2 separate regions of the Homo sapiens genome follow, and region 2 is linked to region 1. The links are contacts of gene promoters, found by promoter capture Hi-C in human tissues and cell types (Jung and others, 2019). All regions are on one chromosome and are shown on one strand. The core of a region is centred on a gene start or on the middle of the fragment in contact, and the rest is flanking DNA. Distances in the headings are between cores, read along the strand shown.

What was found. Contacts are between HindIII fragments. The study calls those that stand out against the background at their distance.
Region 2: a fragment that was not itself captured here is called in contact with the fragment with the promoter of KIFC2 in region 1 in 1 of the 25 tissues and cell types used here (H1 embryonic stem cells).

What each region holds. Positions count from the first base shown.
Region 1 is chr8:144,464,487-144,468,257 of GRCh38, reverse strand. It overlaps KIFC2 (kinesin family member C2), which reads right to left and starts at 1,921. Exons shown (of 18, transcript NM_001369769.2): 1 at 1,740-1,921; 2 at 1,420-1,498; 3 at 1,148-1,299; 4 at 917-1,055; 5 at 628-773; 6 at 479-544; 7 at 271-399. The coding sequence starts at 1,838. TMEM276-ZFTRAF1 (TMEM276-ZFTRAF1 readthrough) reads left to right here and starts at 2,557. Exons shown (of 5, transcript NM_001408018.1): 1 at 2,557-2,687; 2 at 3,162-3,449. The coding sequence starts at 3,357. It overlaps TMEM276 (transmembrane protein 276), which reads left to right and starts at 2,766. Exons shown (of 3, transcript NM_032687.4): 1 at 2,766-2,905; 2 at 3,162-3,449; 3 at 3,646-3,771. The coding sequence starts at 3,357. RefSeq lists enhancers at 928-1,027, 718-1,554, 3,753-3,771 and silencers at 1,198-1,257, 1,328-1,637, 1,688-2,247, 2,308-2,437, 2,508-2,767 and 1 more. The HindIII fragment of the contact is 34,202 bases long and covers 1-3,771 here.
Region 2 is chr8:144,696,731-144,700,686 of GRCh38, reverse strand. LOC100996662 (a long non-coding RNA gene) reads right to left here and starts at 296. Exons shown (of 3, transcript XR_001746144.3): 1 at 209-296. It also overlaps a transcript of ARHGAP39 not described here. The HindIII fragment of the contact is 3,287 bases long and covers 366-3,652 here.

The sequences.
Region 1 (3,771 bases), core at 672-3,171:
TCAAGTCAAGAGGTGGGCAGAGCTGGCTGTGAACCCATGCCTCCCAGCTCCACGCAGACCTCCTTCCCACAGTCCCTCTGCTCTCCTGGGGTCAGCCACTCAGAGGGGCCACGGAGAGGGGGGTCTTCCCATTGGCATCAGCCTCCCTGATGGGGCTGCCCTACACAGACCATCCCGGGAGGTCCTGAGGAGGCTCGGGCCCTGTGGCTGCATGCCAGGTGTGCAAGAGCCCCAGGCTGCAGGAACGGCTGCAGCTCGGGAGCAGAGTACCTGCGGAGCCCTGATGGGGGGCCCGGGGCCCCAGTGCAGCAGGAGGTCCCGCATGAGACTCAGGCTCTGCTTCAGGGCCTCGTTCTCCAGAGTCAGATGCTGAACCCTTTTCTCTGAGTCCGTCGCCCCCTGGTGGAGAGGAAACCTCGGCACTCACCTGAAGCACCCCCTCCATGCCCGGCCCTGCCAGGTCTCCCTGCAGCCTCACCACGCCCAGGCGCAGTCGACCCAACTCCTCCTCCTGCTGTTCCAGCTGCTGCTTCAGCTCCTCCAGCTGGGGAGAAGTAAGAGAGACAGGGTGGACCTCCTTTTTCTGGCGTCCCAGCCGGCAATCCCTTCTGGCTCCAGGGACCTCACCTGTCCCAGGATGAGCTGCTCCAGCCGCTGCCACGCCCTCTGATCCTCCTCCAACTGGAGGGGCTGCTGTCCCTGGGTCTCATCCCCCAGTGGCTCGCCTGGGACTGCGGTGAAGTGGGAAGGGCTTTCTTCTTGGGATGTGGATCCTGGAGTAGGGTGGGCCCAGTTAGCACTGAAGAGGTCTCTAGTCCAAATCTTCCGGAACATGACCCCGAACTCCAGGCCGCCCAGGTTCTACCGGGATTTGCTCCCTCCAGAGTTCTTCTTCAACTTACTGTCCTTTACTCACCATCTGGAGAGGGGGGCCGGACCCGAGGGGCTGGCTGAGTCCCCTGGAGCAGGGCCTGCCTCCCCCTGGGGCTTCGAAGCCATGCCAGAAGGGCCAAGAGCTGACTGGTCACTGTCAACAGTGAGGGGACCTCGCCAGACTGCGAAGGAGACAAGAATCCGAGCAGGGCTGTGAAAGCCAGGAAGGCCGGGGCAGGTGGTACCTGCCAGCAGCCCCCTCCGCCGCGCTCACCTGGCCCAGGTCCGCCGGGCCCCCGCAGCTCTCTTCCGCCCCCAGCTGGACGGAGAGGAACTCGGCGAGGCGCAGTAGGGCCTCTTCCAGGGACACCGCGGCCGCGCGGCCCTCGGCTGCGCCTTCCGACCCATCCTCAGGCTCGGAGCTGGCTGCCGGTCAGGGAGGAGGGCGGGAGACATTTCGGGTCACGTGCTTGAGCCAGGCCTCCGCCCCTCCCTGGGAGGTCCCGGCACCGCCCTCGCACCGCGGGACTCCCAGCCCGCACCTACCGGCCAGGCCGGTCAGCTCGGTCCACAGCTCTGGCGCGGGCAGGTCTGGGCGCCGGCGACCCCGGGGCTTGCGGGCTCTCTAGGGAGGGGGCAGGGGCGCCCCTGAGGAGGGGGGCAGGCAGCCTGCTGGCCCCTTCCCTCCGCGAACCGGGCCGGAGGATTGGGGCCGAAGTCTACGCTTCCAGCATCGGGGCCGAGCCGAGGGTCCTCGGCACGGCCCCGTCGCCCCGCGCCCCGTGCCCGCCCCCGCCCCGGGAACCTCGGCGTGGGGGTGGGGCAGGCGGCGGGAGACGACGGGCTGCACGGCCAGCCCCGCTCACCTGGGCGGGGTCCCCGGGCTCCGCGGCCGCCGCGGCGCCACCATCCCTGCGGAAGAGGCTGTAGAAGATGTAGATGAGCAACGAGTAAAAGGCGTACATGGGAGCGCGGGGCGGCAGAGGGCCCCGCTTCGCGCCGCCCCGCGTCCCCGCGCCCAGACTCGGCGCCCGCCCGCCGCAGTGCCGGTGCGCATGCTCGCGACGGCCGCCCCCACGGCCCGGCTCCCACGGCTGGAAGGCGAGCGCGGGGACGGGGGTACTAGAAACAGGTGCCCGCGGCCGCACCTGGAGACCCGCCGTTTCTCACGGCGCCGCCCGGCGCGCCCCAACCCCTACACCGCGGACACCGGGCTGAGAGCGCCCACGGCTCCCGCGACCCTCCTCTCGGAATCCCTCCCACCCTCCGCGTAGTCCCCCACCGCTCCGGTTTCGCGGAGCCTTCAACACGCCGGGGTTCTCCTTCCTCTCCCTACAGCCCCGCCCATCTCAGCCCCGCCCATCTCAGCCCCGCCCAGACCCCCCCTCCTCGCAGCCCCGCCCAAACCCCGTTCCTTGCAGCCTCGCCCAGGCTCCTCCCCTCTCGGTCCCTCTCAGTCTCGCCCAGACCCCTCTCCTCGCAGCCCCGCCCAGGCCCCGCCCCTCGCAGCCACGCCCAGACCCCCCCATCGCATCCTCGCCCAGGCCCCGCCCCACCCAGGCCCCCTCCCTCTCAGACCCGCCGCTCTCAGCCCCGCCTAAACCTTATCTCCCTCAGCCCCGCCCAGACCCCCCGCCCCTCGCAGCCCCGCCCAGACCCCGCCCCTCGCAGCCCCGCCCCGGCCCTTCTCCCCTCATCACGCTCCTTCCAAACCACTATGCCCACGCACGCACCCACCCAAACAGAGCGTTTTCTGGTCCCCGAGCTCCTCCCGACCCCACCCGCTCCTACGGCCTCCAACCGGCCCCCCCCAGGTCTCGACCCTCTCCCCCAGGCCTCGACCCTCCCCCCCCAGCCGCTCTAGCCCCGCCCGGCCGCTCTAGCCTCCGCTCCTCTCGCTGGTGGAGGTTCCCGACCGCGCTCGCTCCCGCAACTGGGGGCACGGCAGAGGAGGCAGGGCCGACGGCGGTGGGCGGTGCGTTGCGCAGGCTCGGGCCTCCCGCTCGCCGCTGCGTTGGGACCGCGCAGCCCGGTAACTGCGCACGGCTGGCCTCCCGGAGTCCTGCGCCGTCGCTCCTCCTGGACCCGGGTTCCCAGGACAACGCCTCCCGGAACGCAGGGAGCAGGCCGAGGCCGCCGCGTGGGCCTGCAGCGCCTCGCCGCTCTCTCTTCCCCAGGCCCGCACTCCCACTTGGGCTCCAGGGCCCCAGGGCTGACGTTCCCCCCAGCTTAGACCCTGAGTCGTTTTCCCCCGTTTCCCGGCTGAATTAGGTTCTTCTTCTCCACAGGTGTGTGCAGTGGCCTCAGGGATCCGGAAAGTCTAGGACTGAACTTCTCCTAACATCCAGTAATGGGGACCTGGAACCTGGGCTTACTAGAGTGCCGCGCGTAGGGCTCCAGGTCGCTGGCTTCTGCGCTTCCTTCCTCTCCAAAGTTGAGTATCTCCTATCTGTGTCCTCGTACATACTGCCGCCTGAGGTGCCATGGCCCCCAAGCCGGGGGCCGAGTGGAGCACAGCCCTGTCCCATCTGGTGCTGGGAGTGGTGTCTCTGCACGCAGCCGTGAGCACAGCCGAGGTGAGTACACTGGGGCTGAGCAGGGGCGCATCCCCATACCTCCCAAACCCCAAGGACCTAGTTTCCTGAATTAGAGAGAGGTTGGTGGGAAGTGCGTCTAAGACCAGGTCTCCATGGAAGCCCCAAACCCTTTCCTGTTTAAAAGGGTGACCCCGGCCTCTTTTTCCCACGTGTTCTCCCTTCCCTGTGTTGACAGGCAAGTCGAGGGGCTGCTGCTGGCTTCCTGCTCCAGGTCTTGGCTGCCACCACCACGCTGGCCCCAGGGCTGAGCACACACGAAGACTGCCTTGCTGGAGCCTGGGTGGCCACCGTCATCGGCCTT
Region 2 (3,956 bases), core at 760-3,259, 230 kb before region 1:
CGGCCTCGCCCCTGCATCCTTCGTAGATCCCGCCCTGTGACCACACCCCTCGCCCTTCATAGGCACTGGCCCGCGGCCGTGCACGCCCCGCTTTTATTGGCTCCGCTCCGTGACCACGCCCCCGCAACCTTGATAGACTCCACCCCCGAGGACCCTTCTCAGGAGCACAGTGACCCCGCCTCCACAGGGTCCGCTCCGCCACACTGACCCTTCCGTGTCGCTCGCGGGACCCCACCCCTGTCCGCCTGCTCCGGTGCCCATGGGGAAGCCTGGTGCCAGGGGTCACCAGTCAGTCCAATTCACCGCCCGACTGGTGGGACAAGGACAGGTCAGCGGGTCACAGGCCGGAAGTGAGACTCGCCCGGCCGCTCTGGGACGCGGGAAGACCGAGGCCTCGGTGGTTCCCCTCTCTCCCGCCTGGCTCCCTCAGGAGAAGGAGCGGCTAAGGTAGGACCCGACACCGCGGTCGTACCCGCCTTCTTTTCTGTCCCAGAGTACAGCCTGGGATCTCCAGGGGGGAGACTGAATGAGTGCTGTCGAGGACCGGCGAGAGTCTGGAACGTTCGCGCCTTCGTAGGAGAACGAGGAGGTGACGGACAGGGAACGGGGAGCGGCCGTTGGGTGGGACGCCTGAGACCCTCGGGAAATGGCCGGGTCGCCGACTGTTTGCACCACTGGCATCCTGCAGCACTGTGAGATACGGCCCCGTTTGTTCCCAGAATGTAAATCATCCCGCACAGAAAAGGATGCGATTCACGGAGAAAGAGTTCTGTCTCCTCTCTGGGCACAGCTCTCTCTTTCCTGGAAGACAGCGGCCCTGGACAGGCTGGGGGCCCCCGACAGGTTCTAGCCCGGAGGAAGGCGCTGTGACTGGGGGCTCCAGTGGAGACAGAGGACCTTGATGGATTTTATTCTTGTGAGAAGCCCGCTTTCCTACCCAAACCTCATGCCAGTTGGTGACGCGAAGTCAACTTGGGCACTGATCCAGCCCACCCAGCCCCGCATGGTCCGCAGACTGTCCCACCCTCCCGTCCCGTAGCCCACCAGCACCCCGCCCCGCCCTGCCGCCGAGCGCCCACACAGCCTCCCCTCCGTGCCCCCAGCCCACCAGCCCCCTAAGCCTCCCACAGCACCTTGCCCCACAGCGCCTCACGAGGCCTCGACCTCGGGTCCCTCAGCCCCACCGCCCCTGACAGCGCCAGGCCCCACCCCACAATACCCCACAGCCTCCCACCCCCGCCTCAAGGCCCCAACCTATGACCCTCCACATTGCCCCACCCACAGCACCCCCACACCGGCCCGCCCCAAGGTGCCCCACAGCACCCCACCCCACAGCTCCCCAGAGTGCCCCTTCCCATAGCCCCCCACACCACCCCGCCCCACAGCGCCCGCCCCAAGGCCCCGCCCCACTGCCCTGCCCCACCCATCCCCTACACCGCCCTCCCCTACAACACACCACCCCGCATCCTCCATAGCGCCCCCACCTTCAGTTCCCACACCACCCTGCCTCACAGCGCCCCTCACTGCCCCATCTCCCAGGGCTTACAGTCCCCACCCCCTGCATCGCCCAGCGCCTGAGAGGCTGGGCTCCGGGTACCTCCCAAGAGACAAGAGGTGTGTCCCACGCCCTGTGCAGTGAGAAGCCCTGGAACTCCAGGACCCTGCTTTTTTAGGCAGAATGCTATGGATGGGCCACTCCAAAGAGAAACGCGGCTGGGGCCTTCTCACTGGGGTTGCAGGCCGTGGGATGGTGTGAACACTCCATGTTTATTCACATCTTGGACCCCCCAACCCCCCCAAGGGAGGGGTGGCCTTGTCTTTGCAAGAAGGCTTCTGAGTCCTTAGAGGTGAAGCTGTGTCCTCATTCCACTCCCCACTGATACCCAAGCCAACAAGGAGATGCCCTGACCCACTCATGGCCAAGGACACTCATGGAAAAGGCCTTCGTCCTCTCAGTACAGACTGTGCCAGGCAGGCCAGGAAAAGCCAAGAAAATATGGATGGAACAGATAGGTTCCTAGCAAAATACTAAAGCTGAGCCAAAGTAGAAAACTTGAATTAACTAATTGCCAAAAAAAAAACAGATTAGAGAGGTGATTAAAAAGCTACCATTAAGAAAGCTCTAGATGGCTCCAGATCACAGCTGAGCTCTCACCAACCTTTAGAGATCAGATAATTTGAAAGTTAATTACAATCTTCCAAGCCACAGAAAAAGATTAAAAACCTCAATTCACTTTACGAAGCCTTCTGTCTGTAAGCTTGTCTAAGTCTATGTTGCTATAAAGGGAATACCTGAGACTGGGTAATATAAAGAAAGGAGGTTTATTTGGCTCACAGTTCTGCAGGCTGTGCAGGAAGCATGGCACCAGTATCTACTGGTGAGGCCTCAGGCTGCTTTCACTTATGGTGGAAGATGAAGGGGAGCTGGTGTGCAGAGATCACACAGCAAGAGAAAAGGCAAGAAAGAGAGTGGGTAGAGGCCAGGCTTGTTTAAACAACCAGCTTTTGGGGGAATTCATAGAACTAGAACTCCCTTATTACCATGAAGAGGGCACCACGCATTCATGAGGGATCCACCCCCATAATCCAAACACCTCCTACCAAGTACCACCTCCAACATTGGGGATCAAATCTCAGCATGAGGTTTAGGAGGACAAACACCCAAACCATAGCGAAGCTTAACACGCCAAAATGATAGAGCTCAAAGAATCTATAGACCCAGATCTCTATGTTTAATATTGAAAAACAAATTATAAATAAGACAGTAGCAAATAGAATCAAGCAGCATATCAAAAAAATAATATGCCATGGCCAAGTATGGTTTATTTCAGGAATACAAGGATACCTACATACCATTGCAATTCATTAGCTCAACAAATTAAAAGAGAAAAAACAGGCCGGGTGCAGTGGCCCACACCTGTAATCCCAGCACATTGGGAGGCCGAGGCAGGCAGATCACCTGAGGTCAGGAGTTCGAGACCAGCCTGGCCAACATGGTGAAACCCTGTCTCTACTAAAAATACAAAAAAATTAGCTGGGCATGGGAGGCTGAGGCAGGAGGATTGCCTGAACTCGGGAGGTGGAGGTTTCAGTGAGCTGAGATCACGCCATTGCACTCCAGCCTGGGCAACAAGAGTGAAACTCCTTCTCAAAAAAAAAGAAAAAGAAAAAGAAAAAACAGCATTCCATCCACATATGCTAAATAATAACATTGAATACAATTCTAGAGCCATTCTGAGTAAAATTTCAAAGAAAATAGGAATAAATGAAAATGATTTAAATATGGTAAAAATTATTAACCATAAACTCCAAGAACAAGCATCATTTATAGAACGATATGCTAAAGCTATTACTTTTTTTTTTTTTTTTTTGAGAGGGATCTTGCTCTGTCACCCAAGCCACGATGTCAGCTTACTGCAACCTCCTCCAGGTCCTGGGTTTAAGCGATCCTCCTGCCTCAGCCTCCCGAGTAGCTGGAACTACAGGCGCATGCCATCATGCCTGGCTAATTTTCTTGTATTTTTAGTAGAGATGGGGTTTCACTATGTTGGTCAGGCAGGTCTCAAACTCCTGACTTCAAGTGATCCGCCTGCCTCGGCCTCCCAAAGTGCTGGGATTACAGGCATGAGCCACCGCGCCCGACCAGGATCATTAATATATTTAGAAGAAATTAAAGTTGTCCTCTGTCTCATAACATATATGAAAATATTTCTAGAGGTATTTAAAGCCTTAATTAAAAACAGAGCAATAAATAAGCCAGTCACGACAAATTCTGTATAATTCTGCTTATGTGCAGTACCTAGAGCATTCAAATCCATACAGACAGAAAGAATGTTGGTTACTAGGGACTGAGGGGAGGGGAGAATGGGGAGTTAGTGTTTAATGGGGACAGTTTTAGTTTTACACAGTTAAAGAGTTCTGGAGATGGATGATGGTGATAAGTGCACAACATTGTG